Linked DNA regions of Homo sapiens: region 1 is linked to region 2. Evidence: promoter capture Hi-C in human tissues and cell types (Jung and others, 2019). All regions are on one chromosome and are shown on one strand. Each heading gives the region's core, a stretch centred on a gene start or on the middle of the fragment in contact. The rest is flanking DNA. Distances are from core to core; before and after follow the strand shown.

Region 1 (2,818 bases), core at 55-2,554, 280 kb after region 2:
CTTCCCTGGGTCCGCCATGGTGCCAGTGGCTGGGAGCCGGTATCCTCATATGGTGGATGGGGAGACAGTCTTGGAGAGGTAAAGTGACCTCCAAAAGCCACACAGCTTAGAACAGGCCAAGCCAGAATCCCATCCAGACTCTGGCCCCAGCGCATATGTGTGCCTCCCATAAGCTAGGAATGACACGCAGAGGGGGAGGGCTCCTGGGTCCAATGTAGGGCTGGGAGTGGGACTGGCAGGTGCCCTCACAGCCACATGAAGGCATTCTGAACCTCCCGGCTATGTTGGGACAAGCCCTCAGCACAGGGAGGCCTCTTCCCCATGCCAGGAGTTTGGCTTTGACTTCTCCGAGCTTTGGACCTGCCTGAGGAGGGCCCATGCCCATGCCCAGGACTGGGGGCACCTGAGCTGAAAGCCAAAGTACAGCCCTGGGACCACAGGTGTCCTTTCCTTCCAGTCCTTGGGACCTCTGCTGTCTGTGGGCAGGAGTCAGTGGTGGTGTCAGAGCAGGCCTGTAACTCCCCTCTTTGTCCTGAGAGTCTGCCTGGTCATGGGTGTGACCTGAGGGAAAAGGGGGAAGCTGAGCCCCAGCTCCAGCCTGCATCAAATTAACTCCATGCTTCCTGGGAGCCAAGGGACGTGTCTCTTCCAAACAGGGATCTTCTGGATAGAATTCTTGGGGTCTAGGAGATTCTGGCACCTTATAGGTAAAAAAGAAAAGAGCCCTCTGCAAATGTTGGAAGCTCCACTGGGCCCCCACAGTAACCTCGAGGACCGGCCCTCCTGCCCCTGCTACTGAATGTCTGGCAAGTGCTCTGCTTCCTGGGGCAGAGGTCAGCTCCCGCCTCTCCCTGAGCTCAAGGGAATGAGACTCAGAGCCACTGTGCCCCCCGCCCCACATGCTTAGTCACATTGGCATCTACATGGTCACACAGCCACATGTCCACACGCAGCCCAATGCTACACAGTCACTTCATTCCATGTACTTCCACAATCACGCATAGTCACCCTGAAACCTACATGCCTACAACTGCATGATGACACCCCTCCCACACCCCAACTCCAGCACCACACACCTTCGAACCCATCGTCATTCCGGGACAAGGCCAGCACCAGGTCACCCCCAAACCCAGGCATACCAAATCCTGGAGTTCCACACACAGTCAATCCCACTCTTATGCCCCCCCTTTCTTTCCCTCCCTCCCAGGGCTAGTCCAAGAGTGGAACAAAAGCCCAGCATCCCCCTCCCTGCTCGCTTCTCCCTTCCCCTCCCTTCCCCTCCCTCCTGGCGTCCAGCCCCTTTGTCCTCCCGCAGCTGAGCCCGAGCGAACAGCAAACGGGAGTCTGGGCAGAGCAGCATGAACACTGGAGCTTGGGCTGCCAGGGGTGCGGGCGGCAGGCACAAACGGGAGTGATACCTGTGAGAGCAGCAGCTGCGGAGCACTTGGGAGAGGGTATGGCCAGGTAAGTGCCAGGTGCATGGGGCAAGGCTTAGGCTGCAGGGCTGACCCGGCTGCGTGGTGTCCGCAAGTCTGAGATGGGGAGGATGCGGAGGAGGTGCTTGGGTAATGGCTTCAAGTGGATGTGGGTGTGTAAAAGAGTGATGGTGGCATGTTCGAGTCAGCTTCTATAGGCTGGGCCCTTCAATCTGCATCATGACCCCTGGCTTGAAGTGCCTAGACTCAGCCGAGAAGGGAGGATACCCATTGAGCCCTACCTGGGAATTTTTACCTTCTGTGTTCCAACTGGGTGTCGTTTGACCCCCAGACTGGGGATCCCCAGAGTGAATGCTGGATCTGATGTCACTGTGTGTCCAGAGTGCCCAGCGCAGTAGACAGTAAAATGAAAAAGTACTGACACACTTCCTAGGAGGGGACTCTTTCTCCCCCAGGGAGCTGCTTGTGCTGTGGGGCACCTTTGCAAGAAGTCCATCCTTATGCTGATGAGACCTGCCCTCTTGAGTCTCAACTCAGAGCATGGTTGTGCTTTCTGAGCCAGTGGAGGACAGACTGGTTGCAGCGTGCTGTGATGACCGGTCTCACTTCCTTCCACCGGTCCTGGCTGCTCCTTGGGACACACCCCCACCCTGGCAAGTGTGGCATGCAAACCCTGGAGCCAGGTGGATTCAGGATCCAGTCGCTCTACTTGGGCAAAAGTAGTTAACTTTCTTGCCCACCAGGGAGCTCATCTCTCATGATGCTGACCAGGGGATCCGCTGCCCTGGATGACCAGGGCATGAAAGCCAGGCTGACACTAGGCGGGATCTGACCTCCAGAGGCAGCAGAGCAGCTGGGAGCAGGAGGATGGAAGGAGAGGCAGGGCGCAGAGGGTGGACCTGAGCCCCCTAGAGTAAGCTGATGGAAAGGAGGGAGCTCCCTGTCCCTGGAGGTGTGCAAGCAGAGGTTTTGTGTTCATAATGGCCAAATCATAACCAGCATGGCCCAGCCCCTCAGTCTGCAGAGCGCCTTCACAAACACCCCTCTGCTGAGCCTCGCCGCAAACTTCTGAAGGGCGGGTGTCCTGTGTGTGCTTGTTTCCCTTATGACAAACTAAAGGGGCAGGTGTGGGCTAAAGAAACTTCTCAGCTTGTGAGGATGAAATTAAATTATGTCTATAAAAGCAACTGGCACACACAGTGTCCTCCCTTCCTCTTGAGTAAAAGCAATATAGGGAAACACCCATGTAGCTCGTACTGTGTACTAGCACTTTTCATACAGCCCATGTAATAGTCATGAAGCCACAGCCCTGTGAGGTAGGGATGATGATCCCATTTCAGATGAGATAACTGAGGCCAGGGCGGGCAGGTGAGAGGAGTGAC
Region 2 (3,094 bases), core at 338-2,837:
CTGTCCCTCCCGCTCCTGCCTCTTGTCTGTGGCCACTCTGAACTACACAGTGTTCCCAAACCTGCTGAGCTCTGATTCCTTTGCCTTCAGTGACCAGTGACGTTTGTTGTTGAAAGGAGGGAGGGAGGAAGAGGCCAGCCCCTGGCCGCCCCATAATCAGGGGTGCATCAGGGCTAAGACCAGGCCTAGTGTGGAATTCCCCTCTGACTGATGGTTTCTCAGCCCTTACTGGAGGCAAATCCTTGATTGTTTGGCTCATCTGTGCAAAGGGGGTATACAGGAATGTGTAAAATGTCTAAAAACCCTTAGAACAGAGACACAGCTCAACCAGAAGGGATGCTAGGGCAGGGTCCTGGAGGGCCTGCTTTGCCAAGGGGGAGTTTTTTCACTACAGAATTGTGGGGGAGTTTCTGAGGAAGTACGTGTGTGTGTGTGTGTGTGTGAGAGAGAGAGAGAGAAAGAGAGATGGCTACTGAGCAATGTGTTCAGAGTGTGTCAATATTTTAACAACCAGGAGAGTGGTATCTGTGTACAGGCTGAACCTCAGCCCTGGAAGCAGCAGTTCCTACCTTGTCTGGTGCCAGCAGATGAAAGGAAAAACCCCACGGACTCCTAGTCATTCTCCCTTCCCAAGCCACAGATCCAGACCCTCCTAGAAAATGTTACCTTTGGCAGAGCTATTGTTTGGGCAAGGGTGATCTCTCTGGCCACAAATCAGTGGTGGGGTGGGTAAGGGGCCATGCTCATGCCCTCCAGTGTGAGCCCAGCCCAGGGTCCAGGCCAGGTCTGTGCCAAGCAGAGGTCAGCACATTTCTTCATTTCCTTCACAATAGCCCTGCAAGGCCAGCATTGTTGTCCCCGTTCTGCAGATGGTGAAGTCGAGGCTTGGAGAGGTCAGGCATGGGCTGGCTAAAGTCAGTTGCCCAGCTGAGTCTGACTCCGGGTTTCCTGGTACCCAGCATGCCCACTCCACAGTCCACTCTCAGTCTGCACCTTCTCCCCACCCTTCTTTTCTTTCCCTGTTTCTCTCACTTACCCTACTACCAGCCCCAGTTTCCTCCTCCCTGAGCGCACAGAAGGAAATCTCTCCTCTCTGAGCAGGCTGCAGAGCCCAGAACTTTCCCGTCATCGCCCAGAGGCTTTCCCACACCACTTGGCAGCCTGCAGACTGGTCTTCATCCAAGTGCCAAAGGAGAACCCACAGTGCAAGCCAGGAAGAGTAAGTAACCTGCCCAGAGCAGCAGACGGTGACTTCTACCCCACTCCACCCCCAAGAAGCCTCTGGGCAGGCCCAGGAGTTCTCTCTGGGCAGGGGCTCTGAGCGCAACAAAGCCCCCTTTAGGATAAATGTCTTGCCACCATCAATGTGCTGTGTGCACCTGGTGTGGCTGCTCTGCCCCACCTGAGTGCGGTGGTCTCCCGTCTTACAGTGCAGCCCAACTTACCCAGTGCCAAGAAGGAGAAGACAAACTGTAGGACAGCAAGTGTCTGCAGCCTGCGCTCCCACGGCATAAACAAGGGCGCGAACTCTACCATGCTGGCGGGTCAGCCTGGCTCCCGCAGGTTCTGTGAGCTCTGCTGTGGTCTGAGGCACCCACAGGTTTTTGTTCCCTCCCCAGGTTGTAGAAGCTGGCAGGGAGAGTGCCACACCCAGCCCAGCCCAGCCCAGCCCCAAGGCCTCCTTGCCCCTGCTGAGGCAGGAAATTCTATCCTACAAGAAACCTTTGAATCTACCTGCTGGAGCCTGGCTAAGGAAGGAGGAAGAGAAGGGGTTGTATAGCCTTTATCAACTTTCTCAGGCAATGCCTTATCTGCATGGCTGCCTTTCCCCAATTGCTTAAATCTTGTCCTTCCTATAACTAGGCAGGTGAAGCCCCAAGCATATGCAATCTCACCCCCTTCCCACCTATTCAATGACCTGGCCCCAAGGTCAATGGATAGGATAACCTTGTCCTGTCCATTGTTCCCCCTCCACACATATGCTGTACTAACTCCCACCTAAAAATCCCCACCCACACTGTGTCCTCCACCTCCTGCCCCATTTTTCTGCTCACTCACACAGCAAACTCTCGGAAGAGCTATCTTTCATGCCTTCCTGTCCTCACCTCCCATCTGTGGTACCACAAATGGTGGTCCACACTTCAGGTATCACCCTTCCACAAAACTGCCCTTGGCAAGTTCCCTAGTGACCTCCATGATGTTAAATCCAGTAATCAATTCTCAGATCTCATCCTGACCTATTGGCAGCATTAGATATGGTTGATCATTCCCGTTTCTTTGAAACCACTTGGCCTTTGGACACTATGCTCTCCCAGTTTTCTTCCTAGCTCTCTGGCTGCTCCCTTTGTGCCTCTCGTCTTTCACCAGGCCAGCTGTTCGAGTCCCCCTCCTCCACTCCATCCTCGGGACTTCTCTTTTCTCTCCAGTTTCTGCTCTCTGAGATCTCATCCAGGCTCACACCTTGCATTGTATTTACACAGCAAAGACTTCCAAATCTGCATCTGCAGCTCTGCTCCCTGGGGCTCTAAACTTGAATCTCTAGGTGGCTCCTTGACATCTTCACTTGAATGCCTGATAGGCACCTCCATCGTAGCATGTCTAAAGGTGAACTTGATTCCCTCCCCCACCTCCCTTCTGCCCCACTGACTCCTCCTCTGCTCTTTCCCATCTCAGTAAAGGGTAATGCCATTTACCCAGTTGCTCAGGCCAAAACCTGAGTCACACTAGATCCCTTCTGTTCTTCTCCATCCACCTCTACCAGTCACCATGTCCTATCAGTTCTTCTAAGTCCCTCCTTTTAAATGTCAACTTCAAATTGACGTATACCATACATACGGAAAAATGCACAAATCCTAAGCGGACAGAGAAATGTCTTTTCACAAAGTGAAAGTTATCACCACTCTGATCGACAAACAGAACTTACCTAGCACCCCTTCTGGCCTTGCCAGTCACTGCTCTCCTCCCTGTAGCTCAGCACCATCCTCATCTCTGTTCTTGAACTTTATGAAAACTGAATCATTTAGTGTATACTCTTTTGAGACATCATATGTGCCTGTATTGCCTTTGTTTTCATTGCTGTATAGCATTCCATTGT

The links. Contacts are between HindIII fragments. The study calls those that stand out against the background at their distance.
Region 1: the fragment with the promoter of KLHL35 here is called in contact with the fragment with the promoter of MOGAT2 in region 2 in 1 of the 25 tissues and cell types used here (liver).

Annotation. Positions count from the first base shown.
Region 1 is chr11:75,431,689-75,434,506 of GRCh38, reverse strand. KLHL35 (kelch like family member 35) reads left to right here and starts at 1,304. Exons shown (of 7, transcript NM_001039548.3): 1 at 1,304-1,464. RefSeq lists an enhancer at 1,780-2,666. The HindIII fragment of the contact is 12,939 bases long and covers 1-2,818 here.
Region 2 is chr11:75,716,331-75,719,424 of GRCh38, reverse strand. It overlaps MOGAT2 (monoacylglycerol O-acyltransferase 2), which reads right to left and starts at 1,587. Exons shown (of 6, transcript NM_025098.4): 1 at 1,446-1,587. The coding sequence starts at 1,536. It overlaps LOC105369392 (a long non-coding RNA gene), which reads left to right and starts at 1,140. Exons shown (of 3, transcript XR_950316.4): 1 at 1,140-1,219. The HindIII fragment of the contact is 18,092 bases long and covers 1-3,094 here.